Linked DNA regions of Homo sapiens: all the other regions are linked to region 5. Evidence: promoter capture Hi-C in human tissues and cell types (Jung and others, 2019). All regions are on one chromosome and are shown on one strand. Each heading gives the region's core, a stretch centred on a gene start or on the middle of the fragment in contact. The rest is flanking DNA. Distances are from core to core; before and after follow the strand shown.

Region 1 (3,189 bases), core at 254-2,753, 1.1 Mb before region 5:
ACTCCTGGGCTCAAGTGGTCCTCCCACCTCTTTCTTCCAAAGTGCTGAGATGTGATATAGGTGTGAACTACTGTGCCTGGCCTGCTTTGAATGTCTTAAGAGTCATTCCACCAGGTGCAAAACTGTACTAAGTGATTCTTAATCCTTAATGCTTTTTGGTTATCATTTAAATAGTGTAGAGCCATCTTGTTTGACCTCCATGTAACTGATTTGTGTCTAGTTTCTTTCCTTCTTCTTTAAAACACCAGAAGGCCCTTCTCTTTTATGTCCTGTACTTCTCTAGCTGGTTGAATTGTTTGCTTGTCCAAACTTAGTTTTATTTTTTCCTTAACCTGTTCAGGCCATTTGTGCTTCTTATTAGAATTTCATTATTTAATATTGTGAAAACCAGTAAAAGATGAGTACAAATAAAAAGAGTCCTTGTATCCTTAAAGTCTAAGTTACATGTCTCGGAAGAAATGTGAATCACTTAAAGACATTGTAAAAGTTCGGCAAAAATGAAAGATGTAGTTGAATTCTGCACTCAAATTTCTTCACATGGGTGCTTTAAGTTTAAAAACTCTGAAACATGAAATCAAGAAAACAAGAAACTCCTATCAAAGAGGAGGCTATGATCTCTCATCCAAAGCTTGGCTAACTGATGAATATTTTATATTTTGAGCTAAAATAAAATGCTTAGGATATGAATGCATACTTCAATTTTCTGATTTCCTACCATAATTTCCTGTTTGATTATCTGATCCTTTGGAGTCAGGTAAGAAGGTTGCCACAGAGTGTAGATATGGTCCATGTGACATCCCACCCATAACTAGTTTATGCCATAGTGTATTTCTCCAGTGCTTCTACTATTTTTTGTTTGTTTTGCTCTTTACTATTTTTGAAGAATTGTACATGCGTATTCCACCAAATGTAGTACATATGTACAATGCTTAAATGGGTAAAATGTGCATTAGGAAAACTAATAAAACATTTATAGGAAAAAAAACCCTCTTAAATACTTGCTTTCAATTTAGTTTTTAGAGAGTAACAAAAAAAAAAAAACAACTTTTTAAATGTATTATATCCCCAAATGACTGATGGCTTGGGGAAGAGATGCTATTTATATTCTGAAATATATATTTTTGCTATAGGAAAGATTATTAAAACTAAGTACAGCCTATTTTATCTGTGTGTTTTAATGTAAAGGGTGTTATGAAAAGAAGAGACCAAATACAAGCAGAACTGGATTCCAAAGTTGAAGTTTTGACCTATAAAAAGGCAGATACTGATCTGGTAAGTTTTTAAGTTTCTTGATACAATCATATAGAATTCATTGTCTAAAATTTTTATTAGCAATGTCCTTACATGATTGTCCTTACATGATTGTTTCTTATATGATTGTTTCTAAGCATTAAGCAAATTATAGTAAAATTTCTTCCTAAAATCTGTTATACATTGGATACCATGTGAGTCTACAAGCTTAACAATGACGGTTTTCTGCCTTTCTGACTTATGTCTCATACTATTAAGAAAGTATAATTTTGTAAAAAGGAAATAATGTGTTAGAAGAAAGTATGAAAGGCAATGCTAGCATTATTCCAGGCTAGTAAGTACTCAGTAAGTAAATCTACTTTTTTATAGTTTTTTGAGATATTTATATACATTAATGTTCCTGTATACTTCTTTTCTAAGTGTTGTTAAAATCTTTATGAAAGGGAATATCTTTGCGTTTGCAAGTTTAATCTTTCCCTTAAGATATTTTATTATGGAAATTTTCAAACAAAATGAGATCTAATAATACAATGAGCTCTCATATACTCATAACTGGGCTTCATTAATTCTCACCATTTGGCTCAACTTTTTTTATTGTCTCTCCTCATTTTTAAATTTTTACTGAAGTATTCTAAAGCAAATTCTAGATATAGATTATTTTACCCATGGTATTTTTATATTTATATTTTAGTATCTTTGCATTTTCAGAGTAATACTATCAGGTTGGAATAATTATTCTCACTTTAAAGGTGAGAAGACTCTTGAAAGGTAGAGTAATTTGCCTAAGTTTATATATAGGTCTTGAAATGCAGAATAGGATTGGAGGTGATGACGTCTCTTGCCTGCCTCAGACAGTGCTGCCTATCAGAAAGCAGGTATAGAAGTGGGAAAAATGGACTTTTAACCTAACGAACTTCTACTGAGTGCATTATGAAATATTTTTAAAATTTTTCTTTAAATTTAAGGATTTAGGTTGTTATTGAATACAATATTGAGTGCACTTACATCAGGTGAGCGGGGGAGTCCTTGAAACTTCCCTGTAAATCTGTAATATTGCAGCCTCCTCAGCCCTGACCTGGCCAAGGACTCTGCATCCCCCCTCCCTGCTTTAATTTTCTCCCTAACTTTAATCACTTCCTAACATATGACTTCCTAATTAGTTTTCTTTGTATATTTTTCTCTCTCTTTCCCTCTCCATAATTGAAACTCCTTAAGGGCAGATTTTTTTTATTTGTTCACTGGAGTGCTCCCAGGCCCTTGTGCACTGCCTGGCACATGGTAGTCACTCAATAAATATGTAGTGAAGGAATGAGTGGAAGCCACAGGGACTACTCTGATTTGTGCAAGCATATTGAAGGCTTGAAGCATGAAGTCTCTACAAAATCAGAATGTGCAATTATTTCATTATTTAATTAATATTGTGAAAACCAGAAAAGATGAGTACAAATACAAAGAGTCCTTGTGTCTACGAAGTCTAACTTGCATAGTTCTATGCAACTTAGAATTATTATACTATGAATTACTCTCACGTTTCTTGACTATGTATATTAACTGAAATTCTGTTCTCTCCAGTGGAATGTGAGTGGGGAGTGGTGGGCTGCTGTAGACAGAGTAGGAGAAAGGAATCTGTGAGAGGGAATAACAGAAAATGTAGAACTAGATGAACTAGTGCTCAAGGGAAAACTCATCTTTATTATTTAGAGAGAACCCCAGATTAACCTTTTCTATTTGATAAGAAACAATTGACTCCTAACACTCTTTCTATATATAGTTAAGAAACATATATATACATATGTGTATAAACATATATATACATATATACATATAGTTCTTAACTATATATAGAGAGAGAGTTAAGAGTCAATTAGAATTGACTGTGAAAGGCTGCACATGTGTATAGAAATTGTAATTGCATCTTTTGAATTTTAGAATTTGTTT
Region 2 (3,145 bases), core at 271-2,770, 1.1 Mb after region 5:
ATTCTCTGGGTCTACTGCTGCTCAGTTGAAAACGTGCCATGGAAATATATGTCTATCCCTTCTAGCTTGCCCAGCGTTCCATTTTCACTTCCACAGTGAAAGTTATTTCTTAGAAAAAGACAGGTTTTTTTTTTTCAACATTTTCTACACAGACAAAGGGTGATAATAAATTTTGGGGTAAAACTGAGTTGTATTGTGATGAATTTTGTTTTGCAATGAAAAACAGGAGAATGAATATAATGTAAGAGTGTGATTTTTTATTTTCTGAAAATATGATTCCTATAAGAGCTTTCAGAGTAGTTCTGCTCCTTTTTTCCCTAAGGTGAGTTGGGATAGAAGATGAATTCATAACTTAGAATGCAGAAATCTGAACAATTAGTTGTAGCTTTGAATCTCACTGCAGTTTAGAGACGAGGCAATTTACATAGATCTGTAGCTTGATTTTTTTTTATTCACTTAAATGAAAGGGTTACCTATGCATGATGGATAATTATAAAACTAAGCAGGATATAGAAATATACTTTGTTACTGGTGTGATATTTCTGAAGCCTTGCTAGATTTTTTTAAAAAAATCAATTTTCTGCAACTCACCAGTTACCATCTTGTGGTGCTTTGTACTTTTATATACATATATATATACATACCACAAAATCATTTGTAAGTACAAAGAAAAGCTTTTTAACCAAAAACAAGTCTTTTTGTTAGGTCTAAAATTTTAAAATAGCAGCTTAATTTTAGAGGAAACAAATTTTTAGAGGCAAACTGAGGTACAGACTTTAGAAATGATAAATAATGGTCTGTATAAAATAGAATGTATACTAATGGAAACAAAATTATAAACTTGAAATTCTAAATTATAAGAAATCATCATTGTTCATGAATATAGGATTTAGACCCTGTACTGATTTTGATAAATCTTGTTGATTTCATATTTAAATAGAAAGAGTTGAATAGAATAAATTTGTGGCCTGTATTAAGCAAAAAGTAAGCATTTTTTTTTTTAATATGTAGAAAGTTACCATATGACAAATTCTGGAGATTTTACTTTTTTCAAAATTGTTTTTGGGTGTTCCCTAACAATTTCCTTTGTGGTTTGCCTTTCAAGTGGTTATAATTTGTGAACTATTACTTTTGGGGACTAAGATAAACAGTTTACCAAGATTTTAACTTGCTGCTTGTATATGTGCCCATATTGTAAAATTGAACATATGGGAACATTATTGCATAGTTATTGTATTCTTTAATCATGCATAAAACCATCATAGTAAGAACATTTATAAAAACTGATTAGTCTAACAGCCTTTCTCAATTGGGAAAGAACACCCTAATACTATAAAGCCTCAATTTGTATGGAATTATTAACTTCTTACCTATGTATCTAGAAAATTACAGTTATGTATTATCCTTGGGGCAATTGAGAAATAGTCGCTAAAATCATTTTCTGTGTTCATTGGTTCAGATGAGGAACCCTAGTTAAAGGCTGGCAGAGGGTTTTATAATACTGGAAAGAACACAGTGAGCATAGTAATGGTAAACAGAATTTTGAACTTAAGAACCTAATTATGTAAGAATATCATTCAGCAAAAATTCGGTAGTTTTTATTGAAACATCTGCTTTGTCCTCAACACTTTCTTAGGATCTGAGGATACAGTATCAGGTATTAATTCAGTACAACTACCAATAAACTGCCATTAAGTATATTTTAAAAATTCCTGACTTAAGCAAAATCTCCACTCATTTCCTCTCTCTGCCATTACATTACTACACACATAAACACACACATGCACAATTCGTAAATATGCCTTAACTGTCAATGCCTCCAAAAGGTTGTAACTGCTAGTATTAGAGATAAGGTTATCTCCTGGCCAATGAAGAGGGAGCAGGGTTTTTGGTTACTAGGATTGCTTACTGGATTTTATTTTCCATGCTCTTATTTGAAACTCACTGAGTATTTTTTTTTAATTTTTACTGTTCAGTTACCAGAATTTAGTACCAGAGTTTAGTACTGTGCTCTTATTAAAATATTCACTGTAAAACCTAACTGCTTTTTGCATTGTTTCTTGTGGGAAATCGGTGATTTTTAAACAGCCAACTTAAAAATACCTTAAAATACTACCAATTTGTAAATTAGGAGTCTATTTGTAAACTGGATTTGTAAATTGGAGTTAAAGTGTTCTGAGATACCATCTTCCAATCAGAGTTATTCAGGAATTCATTGTTGAAATGTATTTGGTTTCTTTTAAACATCAAACATACTGTATTATTTTTTCCTTTACCCTAAAGCCAAAAACTCCTCAAAAAGTCAAATAAGAAGAGCTGTGTACAAACACCAGAGTGTGCTATTTCTGCTTTTAATCTAACCCTACCATTTTTGTTGTTGCTATATTTGAACTGTAGTTTTTCTAAGAAATGTTGTATGTTTCATCATTGACTTTATTGGAGTATAAAAGCTAAAATGAAGGGAGAAATTTAAAAATCAGAGTGTTATTCCTTTTCCACAAAAGTTTTAGAACGGTTAGTCCCATAAAAAACTGCTTAATGGCTGGGCACGGTTGCTCATGCCTGTAATCCCAGCACTTTGGGAGGCCGAGGCGGGTAGATCACCTGAGGTCACGAGTTTGAGACCAACCTGGCCAACATGGTGAAACCCCATCTCTACTAAAAATACAAAAATTAGCCAGGTGTGGTGGCACACATCTGTAATCCCAGCTACTTGGGAGGCTGAGGCAGGAGAATCGCTTGAACCTGGGAGGTGGAGGTTGCAGTGAGCCGAGATTGCGCCACTGCACTTCAGCCTGCGTGACAGAGCAAGACTCTGTCTCAAAAATAAATAAATAAATAGGAAACTGCTTAATATGGCCTCTTTGTGGTTTGCAACTGATATTTCTATTACAAAGCATGAAAAATAGAAATGTGAGTGGTATAATATAACTAGATATATACGTTAGTAATTTAAAATCTAATGATGGTATATATGTGTAGGTCTGTGATTAAAAATCAAGCCAACACTTTTTCCTTTTTATTTATGCCTTATCATTGTTTGATATGGGATTGCTTGGTTTGTGTAGGTTCATTTAAGGAAACTTACTGGGAGTGTGTTAGAGTGTTCTAGAGAAGTGGAATACAAAGATCTCACCAAGTAATA
Region 3 (3,164 bases), core at 307-2,806, 1.5 Mb after region 5:
GATCAAAGCCTCGCCGAATAAGGTTATGACATAAAGCTGGAACTTCCACATGGTGTTGAGCCTGCAGGTGCACAGAAGTCAAGAATTGAGTTTTGAGAACCTCCGCCTAGACTTCAGAAGATGTATGGAAACGCCTGTATACCCAGGCAAAAGTTTGCTGCAGGGGCAGGGCCCTCATGGAGAACCTCCACTAGGGCAGTGCAGAAGGGAAATGTGGCGTGAGTGCCCCCCACACAGAGTCCCCACTGGGGCACTGCCTAGTGGAGCTGTGAGAAGAGGGCTACCGTCCTGAGCCCAGAATGGTAGATCCACCAACAGCTTTCACCATGCTCCTGGAAAAGCCACAGACACTCAATGCCAGCCCGTGAAAGCAGCTGGGAGGGAGGCTGTACCCTGCAAAGTCACAAAGGTGGAGATGCCCAAGACCAGAGGAAAGTTTTTGCATCAGCGTGACCTGGATATTAGAGCTGGAGTCAAAGGAGATCGTTTTGGAGCTTTAAAATTTGCCCCAATCGATTTCAGACTTGCATGGGCCCTGTAACCCCTTTGTTTTGGCTAATTTCTCCCATTTGGAACTTCTGTATTTACCCAATACCTATACCCTCATTGTGTCCAGGAAGTAACTAGCTTGCTTTTGATTTTACAGGCTCATAGGTGAAAGGGACTTGACTTGTCTCAGGTAAGCCTTTGGACTGTGGACTTTTGGATTAATGCTGAAATGAGTTAAGACTTTGGGGGACTGCTGGGAAGGCATGATTGGTTTTGAAAGGTGAGGACATGAGATTTGGAGGGGCCAGGGGCAGAGTGATATGGTTTGGCCATGTTCCCACCCAAATCTCAACTTGAATTGTATCTCCTAGGATTCTCACATGTTGTGGGAGGGACCCAGGGGTAGGTAGTTGAATCATGGGGGTCAGTCTTTCCCATGCTAATTTCGTGATAGTGAATAAGTCTCACGAGATCTGATGGGTTTATCAGGGGTTTCTGCTTTTGCTTCTTTCTCATTTTCTCTTGCTGCCACCATGTAAGAAGTGCATTTCACTTCCTGCCATGATTCTGAGGCCTTCCCAGTCATGTGGAACTGTAAGTCCAATTAAACCTCTTTTTGTTCCCAGTTTTGGGTAAGTCTTTATCAGCAGCATGTAAATGAACTAATACAATGGAAATAGCTGAGATCCAGCAGAGATAAGGGAAACACATGCCTTCCTGAGATCATAGACAAGGAAGGCCTCCAAGTCCTTGGATGGCGAGAGTGCAGGTCCCTCAAGTGGTCAACTGGACAGAGCTGAGAGTTTAAGGGCTGCAGACATGTCACAACTGTCATTTCATTTGCTCTTTATAATGACCTTAGAGGAGAGCAGAGCAGGCACTATTATTGTCTTCATTTTACTCATGAGAAAAGTGCCCAGGGTTTAATGAGTTATTCTGAGCCATGTGAATAACACTTGGCAGAGGTGTGACTTGAACCTAGGTATCCCCACTCAAATTGCCTGATTTTTCTCATTAGGCCAGGCCTCTTGTCCAGGGCTATGCATCAGAATCACCTGGGGTGCTTGTGATACTTGTGCTTGAGCCTCAGCCTTTGAGAGTCTGATTCAGTAAATCTGGGAGCTGGGCCTGAGCCCCTGTGTTTTTTCACTTTCTGTGGGTGAATGTGAGGAGCTTCCCTTGCTAAGCATCTGCCTCAGACAATGCAGGCTCAGCAGCACCTCCATTGTGGTGTTACCCCAAGCTGGCTTATAGCCTTCAGCCCTGAGGAAATGCCATATGATGGGGGAGAAGTGAAGAAACTACTTTTCACTCAGTATATTCAGTGTCTAAGGAAAGACTGGAACCATGGTAGTAGTCAAGGGACGATTTAGGGCCTTTTACCTTCACAATCTTCATGAATCGCCCATCCTTTGACAAAGACAATTAAAACAATGTTATGTATTATGTGTATTATATCCGTACAAAAATATAGTATCTTAAAAACTCATTTGGAACATATAATCCACCCCTAAACCATGGACCTGCTATGCAAATGTAGTTTCACAGCCAGTCCCACAGCTCCCTTTTCAGGTTGACTGTCACCACTAAACCCTTTCTCTAGATAAATCCTGGAGCTGTCAGGATGACTTATATGTGTTGCTGAAAGGGGAGTTATTTTAGTAGTGAGTGAAAAGACAGACAGCCTTAGAGAACTTCAGGGGTCTTCTGGTTGCAAGCCCTTGTTGATCTGGCACTAGGCTGGAGCTCCAGAGGCCAGGGGAACTGCTGGGTCAGGGGCTATAGAAGGACAGTATCTCCCTAGTTTCTCCTAAAAAGGAAAAGAGATGAGCTGTCTGATGCTGAAATGCAGTGTAATTGTAATAGGAAACTGCCCAAGCAGTGACAAAAAAGATCACAGGACATATAAGGAGATGGAAGGATTAAGGAAATTGTCCATTGGCTCTTTCTCCAAGTGCTCTGCTGATTTTTCCACTCTGTTGTCACCTGACCTCTCCTGTTGTGCAGCTCAGCATCTTAAATTGCAAAGCTGGCTTAGTCCCATGAAGGGTTTCCAACAAGATAAGTTTTTAGGAGGAAAAGGTAGACGTTAGGTGAGCAGGAAAAGGCCTCTAAGTCCCTCAACATTTGGGAAGTCCGTTTGTTTGGGTCCAGAGGGGGATAAGGAAGCTGAAAGGATGTCTACTCCATGGGAGACAGGAGACAGGACACAAGGTGACATTAGAAAAGGGAGGATGTCCTGCAGACGGAGCTTGGAGGGGATGCCAGGATGGAAGAGCCATAACAAGAATGTTAGTGTCAGAAAATAGGAATTTACTAAGACAAACATAACTCTTAGTTCTGAGTGTGAGCTCATGGAGGACCTAGAAGGAGATGCCAGCGTTTCAAAACCACAGTGGAAAAGCTGGATACCATAAGCCTGGGCTCGGAACCACATAGCTTTGGAAAGACAGCTTTGTGCTGTGTTTCTTGAGTTTGAGGGCTGGCCTCTGGGTTTTGCCCCATTCTCCTTGGAACTACACTTACCTCCTACTGTGCTGGGAATAAAAAACAAATGGTTAAAGAAAGAAACAATTTAGTCTCCACTACTGATTTTAAAAAAATAAATATCAAGTGACTGAGTGCTTTCTGAAGTTTAAAACTCTACCTTTACGTGGGTTAATAAGAACATTAGG
Region 4 (3,087 bases), core at 416-2,915, 1.1 Mb after region 5:
TTAAATTAAAAAAAATTTATGAAAGCATTTTAAAAACTATTAAGTGCTATCTAAACAATGACATTACTAATTATTTACAAATTTGACATTATACACTGGTGTTTTTGGTCCAAAGACCAGATGCATTAGGTGTTATAACTAAGTTCCAGAAGCTTATGGAAAAGGATGACTTTTTCATGACTTTGGCTCTAAGTTCTAGGGGTACCTTAGGACATCTTAATATCCCCATTATTGGTAAAGCATGTTCTCTATAAATATGCATTGATTTGAGCCAGAGGTTTCAGAAACACAGTATAATTATAAAGTAAAGCACAATCCCAGGTGATAAGATTTTTGGTTATCTATTCTATAGAAGGCTTATGAAATTCTGGATTAATAGGTAATTATCCATCACTATGAATTAATTATATTTATGCAAATGTGACTGAATATTTAATTTAAATGTGAATTGCGTTACCATTATGGGCCAGTTTTCTTTGGCTTTTTTGTCCCCTGAAAATATGATATACAACATAAGCCAAATTTATTTTTAAAATTTATTTTTAAAACTATAATTTTCTTTCTTTGTGTTTGTAGATTGTAAGAACCCCTACAATATATAGGAAAACTTAGCTCATAAGCTGATTCATCAAGATGAATCTGTAATCTTGTTTTAATTAATATTACTTGACATTTATTCTCAGATCTAAGTAATAATTTTAACTGAAATTTTTTATTGTTAAACATTGTGATTGTCAGTAGACTGTTCTTCAGAAGTTTTCGTAATGCATACCCTTTTTTGTTTGGTTTGTTTATAATTACTGGTAGATAATTTTATTTACTGTTGAAGTAGTGAGGCTCTTTCACTAAAAGCTGCTTCTGAAGTAAGATTTGAATATATTTTTACTTGTAAAAAATTACTGGCAGTAAAGAGTAATAAGTAACTACTGCTTATTTAATCTGTTAGCATTTAAGGGTAAAGCTTTCAAATTAATATTATGTTTATGATTGTAAGATTATAACTGTGATTTACCTTCAGCTTTTGAAGAATAAAATCATTGCCCTGTTTTACTGGTAAACTCATACCTAATGACTCATCTCTTTTTATTTATGATAGGGAAATGGTGCTTCATTGTGAATGCTAGAATTGGGTTAGTCAACCAGAAGTGAACCTCTAATTGTTTCCAAATGCTTACTTTTTGGGTTTGGATGTAGCTCTAAGTCTTAGCTCAGTCAGGAATTTGCTAAGCTTGTCGTTTTCTACATTTCCTTTCATTATGGCTAGATAGATCCAAGCTAAAATCTGGTTTATGCTTCTCTATTACAATAGTTAATCAGAAAAATATGGACACAAACTCCTGAGCTAAACACAATTTTAAAAGGCAAAAACTAGAGTTTCTAAAGGTTTCTTTTACATTTTTATGACTCTTTAAATTATTATAGAAATTGGCCTTGTTCTAAATTGTGTATCACCGTGTGATTTAGCAAGTACCTTTATTCTCTACCATAGTTTTATGACCTAGTTATTGCTCCTACAGCTGAAATTCTTGCATTATTTTTAAATTGCTATTGGAGAAAGTTAGTGTGACATATCCATTTGCTTTGGTGAAATGCTTGCTGCTGTTGAGTGTAAAGATTTTATTAAAATTCTACCTAAAAAGACAACCATTCCAAATTTCAGTATAAGCAAATCAATAAAAACCACAATTGATCCTAATGAAAAAAAGAGATAAAAATGCACTATAATTTTATTTCCTTATATCAGTGATGATGTCTTATAATTTAGTTAATTTTAAAATATATGTTTATTTCTAACATTTTATTAAAATGTTTATCTACATATTGTTCTTGAATGGTGTTAAAATGAGTGATCTCTAAATTTCCTTTTAATTCTAATATGATATTATTTGTGATCATGTAACTTCTTTACTAATTCTAGAGTCCTCAAACTAAGGGCCTCATGTGAAAGCGAATTTTAGGAGGAAAAAAGGAAGTACTAGGTTATTTTTTAAAAAGGTGGTGGCAGGGAGTAGCAGACTTTGGAAGGCAACACACATGGAATACACACATAAAAATTTGAACAAAGATTTGGATAAATCTGTAGATGTTTTTTCTAGGTGACTTATTAAGAGACTGTTGGACTGTCTAAGGGAATGTCTTTAATGTTTTAAGGCTGATCTCCTCAAGGATTATTATAGATGGGATTCACCATCTGTTACTGTGTTTAGCTCCTTGGGGGAAACAACTAGACTAAACCTGAATATTCTAAAACAATAAATTTTTAAAAGTTGTTCACAAAAGTTATTCACACCTATTGCTTAAGTAATGTTATTTCTCATACTGTATGCCTTCTGTTGCAGTTGAGTCAGTGCCTCTTCTATTCCTTTTTCTCTTCCCCTTTACTTTTAAAGGTATGTTTAAAAAGAAGTTATCAACATACCAATTAAGAAAACCATTTACCAAAAGTTCATGGAAAATGAAAATGGATACAAGCATAATATGTAGTTGCTTTAAATTCATATGTGCCTTCTTCTAAATGGTTGGCCCTAAATAAGTTTGATGACTGATTTCCATTGCCTTCTCTGCAGGCTTATTAAAAATAAAGTTATGAATTTCTCTGAGATGAAATATTCTATATTATTTATTTTTGTATTTCCAGTGTCTAGCACATGCTTGCTACATGGTTGGCATATAACAGATGTTTGTTGACTTGAACTTTTCAAAACTGAACTTGGAGTCTAACGACCTGATCTGTTCTAGTTCTCCTGCTTAATAGCTGTGTCCTTAAACAAGTTACTTTGGTGCTCTAGGTCACCATTGCCACAACTCGAGAGTAAGGTCCCACCTGGTTCCAGAAAATCTGATGCCAGATATATAGTAGTAGATCCTTAATAATCGCTTAATATTGATTGCTTAATAAAATTCATTTGCTGGATTTTCTATCATGATAGAATAAATCATTTTGCCAAGTATATCTATGTGTCATTTGGTGACACTGCTTTTTTCCCCTTAGTATATAAAAACAATTTATATTTTCTTTCATTTCCAAATATATTCTCTCTCTAGTATTCTTTATAGTTTAACCACTTTTTCTTATTGAATGGAAAA
Region 5 (3,520 bases), core at 596-3,095:
AAATAGCTTTCTAACTGGTCTCCTTGCTTCCTTCCTTGCTACACTCTACAGTTTATTCAACTATTTCCCATAAAGTTGCGGAGCGATCCTTTTAAAAGGTCAATCAGATTATGTCACTCCTCTGTTCAAAATCTCCATGGCTTTTTTTCCAAAGTTTAAAAGCCCAAGTCCTTGCAATGGCCTACAAAGCCTTAAAAGATCTGGTCACCCGTCTGTGCTCCTGATCCCTTCTCCTGCCCCATCTGTCTGTCCTAATCTCTTACCACTCTCTTCTTCACTCAGCTATGGTGATCTTCTTCGGTTCACCAAGTATGCTCCTGCCTCATGGCCTTTGTACTTCCTATACCTCTACATGTAACCCTCTACCTTAGACTTCTTCTTTCTCGCAGTTTGGCATCACTTTACTGAACGTTATATTTAGAAATGCAAACCTCTCTCTGCTTACTCTTCCACACTTCCCCCTTCCTATTATATATAGGATATAACATATCCTTCTTATTATATAGGATATATTATATCCTGTATAATTTATTTAATTTATCTGTCTCCCACCAATAAAATGTAGGAGTTCCTTGAGGGCAGTGACTGTTTTATTGCTGCATTCCCAGCACCTTATGTGCCTGGCAAATAGTAGGGGCCAGAAAATGAGCTGTGGGTTCCCAAAGTCAGTTACGGACCATTTGCAACTAGCCATTCTCAGAAATCTACAGAAATAAACAAATACTTCAGTATGGGGTTTTTTTTTTTAACTTATATCCTCTTTGGACCTACAGTCATTCCACAATAAAGAATGCAAGAATCTTCTCCACACGCCACAAGTCTTAGTTAACCAAATCTTCTGTCCATTTTCTCATAACCATTAGGAGCCCTCCAAAAGCCCTGGAAGATGGGTTTTCCTTTACCCTCAGGCATTAAATCTCCTTAAGCATCTGCAAAAAGTTCTGAGTTACTGGCCTAACATAAGTGCAGCTTAATCTCAGACGATCTCCGGGTCTATCTAGTGTACATGAGGTACACCCGGACACCGTTAAGTATCAGTGGTGTTTGCACTCTCGATGGTTTGCAGACTGGCCACACCTTACCTACTGGGTCTGCATTCAGGAACATGTGTCCTGTCTGTTAGCACTAGAAGTGATGGACACGTGTTGGCTGGAATGTCAAGGCTGTAGCCAGGCCCCTTATTTTAGACACTTAGAAATCAGGACTCTGAGAACTTAGGCCAAGTAAAAATTATCAAAACAAAGAAACAAAACACGTGGTGGCACAAAAGACACCAGAAGCCAGGTCGTTTGCCCCTCACCATTCAGCCCTTCCCAGCAAAAGATCCTACTGTGCAGCTCAACCTAGCTCGCAGCCGGTACCGCGGGATTTTAATGTGCAACTGTGAGCTCGCAGGCTGTTAAAGGAAGGCCGCGCCTTGGCCGGTGCACCTTCCCCAGGGCAAGGAGAAAGCGCCGCTCCCGGCCTCAGCCGCAGCAGGCTCCAGGTCCCCCGGCCCGGAGCCGACTGAGACGGTGCGGTGCCCACGCTCTCGCGAGACTAGCGGTCGGGGCGGGCGGGTCGAGCCTCCCGGAAGTGGGCCAGAGGTACGGTCCGCTCCCACCTGGGGCGAGTGCGCGCACGGCCAGGTTGGGTACCGGGTGCGCCCAGGAACCCGCGCGAGGCGAAGTCGCTGAGACTCTGCCTGCTTCTCACCCAGCTGCCTCGGCGCTGCCCCGGTCGCTCGCCGCCCCTCCCTTTGCCCTTCACGGCGCCCGGCCCTCCTTGGGCTGCGGCTTCTGTGCGAGGCTGGGCAGCCAGCCCTTCCCCTTCTGTTTCTCCCCGTCCCCTCCCCCCGACCGTAGCACCAGAGTCGCGGGTCCTGCAGTGCCCCAGAAGCCGCACGTATAACTCCCTCGGCGTAAGTGCTAGGAATGCCGCTGGCCTCGCGGGGAAACGCATTCTTTCTATCTATAGCTCGCTCTGTACATCTTCTGTCTACGGCAGCTATTCCAGAGGCAACAACTGCTTCCCTCTGTTCTCATCTCCCCATTGGTGGCTGGCGACCCGAATTTGGGAATGGGGAGATTGCCCACCTGTTATCTTTGAGCAGACTAATCTCTTGTAAGCAGAAGTGCCATTCGGAGTCTCCAGAGCCCTGTGGCTTGGGGCTGGGAATGTCCCCCTGACTTCAGGCTTTCCTAAGTGTATTGCTTTTCTCTGAGAATGGTCTAGGTTTTTAATTTTTTAATTGTAAGAATCTGTAATACAGCATTTTTATTTCGGTCTTATTCGTTGTGCTCAAAGGCAGGAAACAACTATTAATTTGCCTTCTCGAATCTTAATAGTTATAAGATTCATTCTCTTTCATTGCTCTGCTAGGCATAAAACACACTTCGAACATGTAAGTGCCGCTGTCAGCTCTGGAGAGTTTAAGGCAATAGTTATTTTCGATATTTTAACTCCTTTTTGTTTCATAGGGGTAACTCATTCGACTGTGGAGTTCTTTTAATTCTTATGAAAGATTTCAAATCCTCTAGAAGCCAAAATGGGACACAGTAAACAGATTCGAATTTTACTTCTGAACGAAATGGAGAAACTGGAAAAGACCCTCTTCAGACTTGAACAAGGTCAGTAGCAAGTTGTTTTGATTTGCTCATTTGCGTCTTTTAAACTTTTAATTCATTGGCAGTCCTGTTAAATGTTTTAAAGCTCTAAGATAAATATTATTTCCAAGGGTCTAAAACTTGATTTGTGCAAAGATGGTGCTGTGTTCTCCATATATCACTAATTAATGTTGATTTGAATTAAAAATATTTTATATCCCTCGTGTTAGGATAAGGATAAAATAGTTCTCTTTTCTCTGCGTACTAATTCCCACTTAAGATTGAAGTTAAATATATGATCAGAAGATTGCCCATATTATTTCTAATAACATTTACTATTAAAACTTGGTAAATTACTTCATATGTAATTTTGCTTTGGGTATGCATGTAGTTTTGCCTTTGTATAACTGTCTCTTTTCCTTTGTTGAACCTTTGAATTGACAAAATAGATTGCAGCAAAAAGTATAGTAAACTATTGTTTATGTATATCAAAAACTTCTCAAATGTGGAGTAGGTAAAAGCTGAAAATATTTTCTTAGCAAATAAAAAGTGCAATAACTCATCTGGTTATGTTGAACTATATATAGTTGATCTGTATTTAAAAGATCAAATTACTTTTCTACAAGGCTAGTTAATAGATGTTTTATTTTCTTAGCCTTTGTAATTTTTCAACATTGAAGAAGTGTAATATATGAAAAATCCAGTCCCCCTTATTAATGTACCAAATGGATGTTGCTAGTCATAAACATTTCAAAGGAATTTTTAAATTTCGCTAATGTTTTAAGAATTAAATTTTTGAAAAAAATTTCACACATACAATGTGATATCTTCATGCCAAATCCGCGCCTTTTTCCAACTTTGGCATTTAAAATCACTGAGTACCTACTCCATTTTTGGCTTTCCTGACTCTGCACTTTTCTGGTTTTGATTTTTTT

Evidence for each region. Contacts are between HindIII fragments. The study calls those that stand out against the background at their distance.
Region 1: a contact is called between a fragment that was not itself captured here and the fragment with the promoter of AGL in region 5, in 1 of the 25 tissues and cell types used here (liver).
Region 2: a contact is called between a fragment that was not itself captured here and the fragment with the promoter of AGL in region 5, in 1 of the 25 tissues and cell types used here (neural progenitor cells).
Region 3: a contact is called between a fragment that was not itself captured here and the fragment with the promoter of AGL in region 5, in 1 of the 25 tissues and cell types used here (spleen).
Region 4: a contact is called between a fragment that was not itself captured here and the fragment with the promoter of AGL in region 5, in 1 of the 25 tissues and cell types used here (stomach).

What each region holds. Positions count from the first base shown.
Region 1 is chr1:98,700,632-98,703,820 of GRCh38, forward strand. SNX7 (sorting nexin 7) reads left to right here. Exons shown (of 9, transcript NM_015976.5): 7 at 1,186-1,272. Among named protein-coding and RNA genes, the nearest start is that of SNX7, 41 kb to the left of the region's middle. The HindIII fragment of the contact is 3,132 bases long and covers 1-3,069 here.
Region 2 is chr1:100,929,593-100,932,737 of GRCh38, forward strand. All of the region lies in intron 8 of SLC30A7 (solute carrier family 30 member 7), which reads left to right. Among named protein-coding and RNA genes, the nearest start is that of SLC30A7, 35 kb to the left of the region's middle. The HindIII fragment of the contact is 3,099 bases long and covers 1-3,070 here.
Region 3 is chr1:101,362,514-101,365,677 of GRCh38, forward strand. The region is part of intron 4 of LINC01307 (long intergenic non-protein coding RNA 1307); the gene reads left to right. Among named protein-coding and RNA genes, the nearest start is that of LINC01307, 40 kb to the left of the region's middle. RefSeq lists an enhancer at 1,508-1,577 and a silencer at 2,008-2,107. The HindIII fragment of the contact is 7,284 bases long and covers 1-3,164 here.
Region 4 is chr1:100,954,398-100,957,484 of GRCh38, forward strand. The region is part of intron 8 of SLC30A7 (solute carrier family 30 member 7); the gene reads left to right. Among named protein-coding and RNA genes, the nearest start is that of SLC30A7, 60 kb to the left of the region's middle. The HindIII fragment of the contact is 6,198 bases long and covers 1-3,087 here.
Region 5 is chr1:99,848,516-99,852,035 of GRCh38, forward strand. It overlaps AGL (amylo-alpha-1,6-glucosidase and 4-alpha-glucanotransferase), which reads left to right and starts at 1,846. Exons shown (of 34, transcript NM_000642.3): 1 at 1,846-1,900; 2 at 2,460-2,609. The coding sequence starts at 2,528. RefSeq lists enhancers at 992-1,966, 1,167-1,316, 1,967-2,940 and a silencer at 1,497-1,816. The HindIII fragment of the contact is 6,862 bases long and covers 1-3,520 here.